Regions from separate parts of the Homo sapiens genome. Here region 2 is linked to region 1. The links are contacts of gene promoters, found by promoter capture Hi-C in human tissues and cell types (Jung and others, 2019). All regions are on one chromosome and are shown on one strand. The core of a region is centred on a gene start or on the middle of the fragment in contact, and the rest is flanking DNA. Distances in the headings are between cores, read along the strand shown.

Evidence for each region. The method cuts DNA at HindIII sites, captures the fragments that hold promoters and counts their contacts. A contact is called where the count stands out against the background at its distance.
Region 2: a contact is called between the fragment with the promoter of CSDC2 here and a fragment that was not itself captured in region 1, in 1 of the 25 tissues and cell types used here (aorta).

What each region holds. Positions count from the first base shown.
Region 1 is chr22:41,199,945-41,204,058 of GRCh38, forward strand. No RefSeq gene overlaps it. Among named protein-coding and RNA genes, the nearest start is that of L3MBTL2, 3.3 kb to the right of the region's middle. The HindIII fragment of the contact is 6,746 bases long and covers 1-4,114 here.
Region 2 is chr22:41,558,172-41,562,833 of GRCh38, forward strand. It overlaps CSDC2 (cold shock domain containing C2), which reads left to right and starts at 2,839. Exons shown (of 4, transcript NM_014460.4): 1 at 2,839-3,012. It overlaps LOC105373044 (a long non-coding RNA gene), which reads right to left and starts at 2,712. Exons shown (of 2, transcript NR_134631.1): 1 at 2,549-2,712. The HindIII fragment of the contact is 6,219 bases long and covers 1-4,006 here.

The DNA of each region.
Region 1 (4,114 bases), core at 607-3,106:
AGCTTGGGCAACATGGAGAAACCCCCTCTCTACAAAAAATACAAAAAATAGCCATGCCTGGAGGCGCACACCTGTGGTCCCCACTACTCAGGAGGCTGAGATGGGAGGATTACTTGACCCTGGGAGGTTGGGGCTGCAGTGAGCTGTGATTGTACCACTGCACTCCAGCCTGGGTGGTGACAGAGCAAGACCCTACCTCAAAAAAAAAAAAAAAAAAGGAAAAGAAAAAAAGATGTTTCTTGTGGCTGGATGTGGTGGACACACCTGTAATCCCAGCACTTTGGGAGGCCAAGACAAGTGGATCACTTGAGGTCAGGGGTTCTAGACCACCCTGTCCAACATGGCGAAACCCTGCCTCTACTAAAAAAAGTACAAAACATTAGCCCAGCATGGTGGCACGTACCCATAGTCCCAGCTACTCCGGAGACTGAGGCAGGAGAATCGCTTGAACCTCAGAGGCGGAGGTTGCAGTGAGCTGAGATTGTGTCACTGCACTCCAGCCTGGATGACAGAGCTTGACTCTGTTTCTTTTCTTTCTTTCTTTCTTTTTTTTTTTTTTTTTTGAGACGGAGTCTCACTCTGTCGTCCAAGCTGGAGTGCAGTGGCATGATCTCGGCTCACTGCAACCTCCACCTCCTGGGTTCAAGCAATTCTCTGCCTCAGCCTCCTGAGCAGCTGGGGTTACAGGCACCCACCAACATACCCAGCTAATTTTTGTATTTTTAGTAGAGACGGTGTTTCACCATCTTGGCCAGGCTGGTCTTGAACTCCTGACCTCATGACCCACCTGCCTCGGTCTCCCAAAGTGCTGGGATTACAGGCGTGAGGCACCGTGCTGGGCTGAGACTCTATTTTAAAAAAAAAAAAAAAAAGCCAGGCGCAGTGGCTCACGCCTGTAATCCTAATCCCAGCACTTTGGGAGGCCGAGGCGGGCAGATCACCTGAGGTTGGGAGTTCGAGACCAGCCTGACCAACACGGAGAAACCTTGTCTCTACTAAAAATACAAAATTAGGCCAGTCACGGTGGCTCACACCTGTAATCCCAGCTCTTTAGGGAGACTGACGTTGGTGGATTAACTGAGGTCAGGAGTTCGAGACCAGCCTGACCAACATGGTGAAACCCCGTCTCTACTAAATACAAAAATTAGCCTAGCATGGTGGCGCATGCCTGTAATCCCAGCTACTCGGGAGGCTGAGGCAGGAGAATCGCTTGAACCCAGGAAGCAGACGTTGCAGTGAGCTGAGATCACGCCATTGCACTCTAGCTTGGGCAACAAGAGCGAAACTCCGTCTCCAGAAAAAAAAAAAACAAAAGCAAAAAATGCATACATCAACAGTACAAGGAAGTAAAAACCTGAGCATCCAGTTTCAGCGTATGAGATAAGCAGAGCAGGAACACCAGTGACAGGAACCGTTGGCGTAAGTTGAAATGGCCGTTTATTAGGAATTCAGTTGAAACATCTTATTAAGCACAGGTTGCTAAGCAATAGTGGCCGCCCCAGAACAGTAACAGTGTGGCAGTTCCTTCTGCTATGGAGCTCCTGGGCAGGGGTTTCATCCTGCAGCAAAGGTACCCTTTTTGGCTGGACTAATTCATCCCTCTACATGTGGACCTAATACGCTCCTCTCTTTTAAGGCCCTCCCTCTGTGCATCACTGTCCCTCTGTCTGGGATCATTGATCTGTCTCTCTCTACTAGATCACTCCCAATAGCAACACAAACGTGCTCTTCTGTTCCAAACTATGTACATAAATCCCTTAAACTCACCTCTTCTGCTCTATGCCCTGCCATTGTGCTATTCCACCCAGACAACTTTTTTGTTGTTGTTGGTTTTTGTTTGTTTGTTTGTTTTTTGAGAGAAAATCTTGCTCTGTCGCCCAGGCTGGAGTACAGTGGCATAATCTCGGCTCACTGCATCCTCCACCGCCCTGATTCAAGCAATTCTCCGGTCTCAGCCTCCCGAGTAGCTGAGACTACAGGCGCATGTCACCACACCCGGCTAATTTTTGTAGTTTTAGCACAGATGGGGTTTCACCATATTGGTCAGGCTGGTCTCGAACTCCTGACCTCAGGTGATCCACCTGCCTCAGCCTTCCAAAGTCCTTGGATTACAGGCATGAGCCACTGTGCCCGGCCAATATTTTTCTATTTTTAGTAGAGATGGGGTTTCACCATGTTAGCTAGGCTGGTCTCAAACTCCTGACCTCAAGTGATCCACCCACCTCAGCCTCCCAAGTAGCTGGGACTATACGCTTGTGCCACCACACCAGGCTAATATTTTGTAATTTTTTTTAATTGACACAGGGTTTTCACCATGTTGGCCAGGGTGGTCTAGAATTCCTTTTTTGTTTTTTTTCCAAGCTGGAGTGCAATGGCGCGATCTCAGCTCACTGCAACTTCCGCCTCCTAGGTTCAAGCGATTCTCCTGCCTCAGCCTCCGGAGTTGCTGGGATTACAGGCATGCCTCACCAAGCCCGGCTAATTTTTGTATTTTTAGTAAAGATGGGGTTTCACCATGTCGGCCAGGCTGGTCTTGAACTCCTGACCTCAGGTGATCCGCCCACCTTGGCCTCCCAAAGTCCTGGGATTACAGGCGTGAGCCACCGCGTCTGGCAGAACTCCTGATATCAAGTTATCCACCTGCCTCAGCGTCCCAAAGTGCTGGGATTACAGGTGTGAGCCACCATGCCCAGCCAGACAACTTTTTTTTTTCTCTGTCACCAGGGTAGAGTGCAGTGGCATGAACATGGTTCACTGTAGCCTCAACCTCCTGGGCTCAAGCAATCCTCCCTCCTCAGCCTCCAGAGTATCTGGGACCACAGGTACATGCCACTACACTTAGCTAATTTTAAAAAATTTTTAGCTGGGCACAGTGGCTCAGGCCTGTGATCCCAGCACTTTGGGAGGCCAAGGCAGGCGGATCACGAGGTCAGGCGATCAAGACCATTTGCCCAGGTGGGCGAATCACCTGAGGTCGGGAGTTCGAGACCAGCCTGACCAACATGGAGAAACCCCATCTCTACTAAAAATACAAAAAAAAAAAAAAAAAATTAGCCAGGTGTGGTGGTGCATGCCTGTAATCCTAGCTACTTGGGAGGCTGAGGCAGGAGAATTGCCTGAACCTGGGAGGCAGAGGTTGTGATGAGCCGAGATCGCGCCATTGCACTCAAGCCTGGGCAACAAGAGTGAAACTCTGTCTCAAAAACAAACAAACAAAAAAACTCTAATGCCGTTCCCTTGCACAGAATAAAATCCAAGCACTCCACAAGACCCTGAATGACCTGGTCTCAGCTTTCTCTCAAACCTCATCTTGTATCACCCTCTCCATGTTTTGCTATATCCATCTACTCTCTCTGTCTTTCTGTTTATTGCATACCAAGCTTGAGTTGGCCCCAGGACCTTTGCACTTGCTGTTCCACCAATGTGGCCTTTGCACTTGCTGAACCAACCTGTCTTTTTCTTTTTTTTTCACCACTATCTTATTCCAGAACATTTATTTTTATTTTTATTTTTTGAGATGGAGTCTTGCTCTGTTGCCCAGGCTGGAGTGTAGTGGTGCAATCTCGGCTCACTGCAACCTCTGACTCCCTTGTTCAAGCGATTCTCCTGCCTTAGCCTCCCAAGTAGCTGGGATTACAGGCACCCGTCATCACACCCAGCTAATAGTTGTATTTTTAGTAGAGATAGGGTTTCATCATCTTGGCCAGGCTGGTCTCGATCTCCTGACCTTGTGATCTGTCCATCTTGGCCTCCCAAAGTGCTGGGATTACAGGCGTGATCCACTGCACCCGGCCAGGTCAATGAGTTTTAAAGATCACCTGTGTGTATTAAAGGTGAAGATTTAAAAAGGGTGACCACAGGAGGTGGAGGTTGCAGTGAGTGGAGATCCCACTGCATTCCAGCCTGGGCGACAGGGGAGACTCCATCTCAATCAATCAATCAATCAATAAAAGAAAGAAAGAAAGGGTGACCAGTTGAAGGGCTGCTGCAATGGGCCGGTGGCTTGTATTAGAGTGGTAGTGGTGGAGGAAATACAGGATATATTTTGGAGGTAGAAAAACCAACACGTTGACAGCATGGATACAGGGGTTTAGGGTGGAAGGGGTTGAAGGAA
Region 2 (4,662 bases), core at 1,589-4,088, 360 kb after region 1:
GGTTGGTGTGTTTGAAAAACATAGGTCCACCGGGCGCAGTGGCTCATGCCTGTAATCCCAGCACTGTGGGAGGCCAAGGTGGGCGGATTGCCTGAGGTCAGGAGTTCGAGATCAGTCTGGCCAACATGGTGAAACCCTGTCTCTACTAAAAATACAAAAAAAGTAGCCGGACGTGGTGGCGTCCTCCTGTAATCCCAGCTATTCAGGAGGCTGAAGCAGGGGAATTGCTTGAACCAGGGGTGTGGAGGTTGCAGTGAGCCAAGATCGCACCACTACACTCCAGCCTGGGCAACAGAGCAAGACTCCGTCTAAAAAAAAGAAAAAAAAGAAAAAAAAAACATAGGTCCAGAGATCAGGCTTGGGGCCTCTGCTCCAGCACTCCTCCACTTCGGAGCCGCGTGACTCAGTGGAGCCCCACGAGCTCTCTGAGCTGTTTCCTCATCCCACCGAACCCGATAGAGCTGTCAGAAGAAGCAGGCAAGGGGCTAGGCGCAGTGGCTCATGCCTGTAATTCCAGCACTTTGAGAGGCCGAGGCAGGTGGATCACCTGAGGTCAGGAGTACAAGACCAGCCTGGCCAACATGGCGAAACCTCATCTCTACTAAAAATACAAAAATTAGCCAGATGTGGTGGCACATGCCTGTAGTCTCAGCTACTCAGCAGGCTGAGGCACGGGAATTGCTTGAACCCGGGAGGCAGAGGTTGCAGTAAGCTGAGATCACACCACTGCACTCCAGCCTGGGCGACAGAGTGAGACTCCGTCTCAAAAAAAAAAAAAAAAAAGAAAGATATTATTGCTGGAGGAGAGGAAGGCAAAGAAGAAAGAAGAGACGATGTTATCCCAGCACTTTGGGAGGCCAAGGTAGGAGGATCGCTTGAGGCCAGGAGTTTGAGACTAGCCTGGGCAACATAATGAGACCCCATCTCTATAAAAATTTTTTGAAAACTTAGCCAGGCATGGTGGTGCACCCCTGTAGTCCCAGCTACTCATGAGGCTGAGGCGGGAGGATCATTTGAGCCCAGGAGTTGGAAGCTGCAGTGAACTGTGATTGAGCCACTGCATTCTAGCCTGGGTAACAAAGCAAGACCCTGTTTCAAAAAAGAAAAAATAAATAAATAAAAAGGAGGAAAGAGAGAGGAGAATTTAAAGGGGAAGGGAGGCTCCTCTGGGTAGAGTTCTCAGGTGGGGCTGTGAAATAAAATCAGAACCCTGGCTGGGCGCGGTGGCTCACGTCTGTAATCCCAGCACTTTGGGAGGCTGAGGTGGGTGGATCACGAGGTCGGGAGATCGAGACCATTCTGGCCAACATAGTGAAACCCTGTCTCTACTAAAAATACAAAAAAATTAGCTGGGTGTGGTGGTGTGTGTCTGTAGTCCCAGCTACTCAGGAGGCTGAGGCAGGAGAATCGCTTGAACCCGGGAAGCGGAGGTTGCAGCGAGCTGAGATCAAGCCACTGCCCTCCAGCCTGGGCGACACAGCAATACTCTCTAAAAAAAATAATAATAATTCAGAACATCCCCAGGTAACCACAGGCAGCATTTCTCAACAGTCTCTCCTGCAGAACCAGAAACCCAGACTGTCTGAGCCTGATTGTCCTGAGAGGTTCTGGAAGGGCAGGGGCGTGTGGTGACACTGGGTGCTCCTGGGTTCCAGTACCTCTCTAGCCAGTTGGAAGAATATAGGCAAGTCAAGTCCTTCCTCCTCCCTGAGCCTCTAATTCCTCACCGGTAAAGTAGGGATGATAAAAATAAATTATTAAATTGTTGTGAGGTTTCAATGAGGGCAAAGCTTGCTGCCTGAAACAGAGCAAGCTCTTGTGGCGTCTTAGCTATTTGTATTAGTTACTTGTATTTTTCTCTGCGGTTTCCCTTTTAACTCCCACCTCCTTTTTATTTTAAAAAGACTCCTTTTGAAAATGCCAGCCTGCCTCAGTAGTACCAGGAGACACCAGGGAAAGGCTTCCTTCTTTCCAAGCTGAGGCTGAGAAGGAATGGGAAGAACGAAGAGAAGCACCTTTGTGGAGGCCTCCTCCAGCTGGCCCTGGGTTTAGGAACATCACACACTCAACCTCCAAAGGCCCTCAGGGGCTGGCCCAAGGTCACACAGCTTGACAGTGCGGAGCACTTCGAAGCCAGGGCGTGTGGTGTAGAACAGGCTGGGTGCCTGAATTCAATCAGCCCTCTCTACTTCTCTACTCAGAGCCTCCCAGGCTGTGGGGTGTTCACCTGTGCACCTTCAAGCCGATCACTTCCTTGGGGTCCTCGTCAATTCAATTCCATGGAAATATTACAAGGGGTAGACAGAGATGAGCCGTGTCAGTGTCTGTACTAGCAGAGGGCAGGACCACTGAGCGTCCGGAGGGGAGACGAGTGTCTGGGTGTCCCTGGGAACCTGGCTTGTCTCGACCCCTCTGGGGGGCTCCTCTTGGCTCTGACCTCCATTCTCCCAGACTCACCCCCACTCATGCCCACCCACCCCGAGGGGCCCCCCAGTGTGCACTCACACACTCACACTCAAACTCACCACCCCACTTGCTCTCTAATTACCAGGAACGTGGCGCTGTCTCAGGTTCTTCCTCCCCTGCATTCCTCAGCAGCTGCCCTCACTGGGCAGGGCAAATTATACCGTGGCCCGACCATAAAAGCCACTTTCCAAAAAAAGAAGCTTTAAGGCCCCCGAGAGACGCAGCTGAGCCTCTCACCTGGCAGTGCCTGACTCAGGAGGTGATGTCTGGGCCATGAGCCACAGAGCCTGGTGTCCCTTTAAGCAGGGAGTACAAATTCTCATCCCTCCCTCCTGCTCTCCCTGACGTCAGCTGGAAGGCGTGTGAGTGAGTGAGGGGCTGAGGTACCGCCCGCGCGAGCACACACAGACACACACACACACACACACACACACACACACACACATCTTCCAGACCCATCCCCTGCCTGCCAGCTCCACGAGCCAGAGAGAGACAGAGCGCGGACGCCGCAGGAGGCAGTGCCTGGACCCCAGCTGCCCAGGAGAGGTGAGGGGCTAGATGGGGCCTGAGGACACTGTGCCAGAAACTGTGGCTTTGGCCAGGCCGAAGGAGAGAGGTACAACGTGAAGGTGGGGGCTGGATCAGCCCAGTTCAGCTTACAGATAGGGTGTTGGGGGTATAGAGGATACCACCTGTCTCTCCCTCCCTCATTCTCTCCCCGTGACCCCCAAATGAGGTGAGGCCGTGTGGCTCCCGTGGGAGCATGTCTGTGTCTGTGTCTGTGTCTGTGTCTGGGACCTGCGTCTGGCTCAGGAGGCAGAGAGCAGCAGATACCTGCCAAGCCGCAGCCTCCTGTCTGGGAAGCAGCGGGAGAGAGGACCGCCTTGACCAGAGAAACCCCAGTGCCGCTTCCAGTTGCTGAAAGCAGAGTGCAGCAGGGACCCTTGCTGGTCCTTCCCCTGGAATGTTGGGCTGGGAAGGGACCGGCTGGGAAAGGCAGACAGTTGGACCTGGAGCAGCTGTCTTATCCTGACTCTATTTTTTCCCCAGTGTGATGGGGATAATTGTGTTAGTTGGCTTAGAGAGGTGGCTCCGTGTGGTTATTCTCTTCCCCCAGGTACCACCCCACCCCGAGCCCTTGCTTCTTGCCTGCCTGCTGGTCTGCTCTGACCTCCACCCTTGCCAGGGCACAGCCCCCGGAGGGCAGGGGTGATAAGTCAGGGCCTGCCAGGCCTCTATCTTGGGATACAGGGACTTAGGGTGGCCTTGGCTGGTGCCAAGCCCATGAATGGCCTGACCCTGGCACAAGGAGTCCAGGCGGAGATAAGGGGCGACGCTGGCACCCACAAGGAGACAGCAGGTTCCTGCCAAGCTGCCAGCCTGCAGGCTCTTCCCAGGGAGAGGGGAGGGGGACACAGAGCGAGAACAATAATAAATACAGAGTGTGAACTGCTGCATCCACTGGGGCTGGGGTAGGAGAGGAGGAAGTATGCCCAGTGGGGGGTGGGCAACCTCTCTGAGAGCCTGGCATCATGCTGCCTGGCTGTGATCCGGCAGGGGCCTCTCCCTGGGAAAGGGGGTCTCCAGCTTTCTGGGGGATGGGGAACTGGTTTCCCAAACCTGACTCCATCCCAGAGTCCTCTGGACCCTCCAAATTCTGAATGTTTCCTCCTCCCAGCTTTGCCCTGCCGCCCCCCATTTCCTTGAAGTCTTCTCCAAAAATGTCTGTTTTCTGTGTCTGCCCATCTTGACCCATCCTCACCCCCTTCAAAAAAAAAAAAAAAGACAGGTATAGACAGGAACTGCCTGCCCGTGTCCTGGGAAAGGCCAGAGGACAGTTTTGGCCACAGATGGCTCTCCCAGGCTTGGAGAGACATGGCTAGGCAATGTTCACGGATGCGCAGGGGGATTCCCTGAGGGGGACTTGGGGACACTCTCAGATGGCTGGTGGGGAGGGGACACCTGCCAGCCAGTCTGGAGTAGAGCCCCCTAGGGGGTAGAGGGCGCTCAGGACCTGGCTGAGCCAGTCATGTCCACGGTCACAACTGGGGCAGCCAGGACCCAGAGCCTTGTAGGAATGGGGCTTGGGGCAGTTCAGACCTTTGTCCATGCTGAGCAGCAAAATGGGAGGCTAAAAGTAGTAGGGAGCTCTTCTGCCCCACAGCCAGCAAAATGACACTCCTGGGCTGGGGGGCT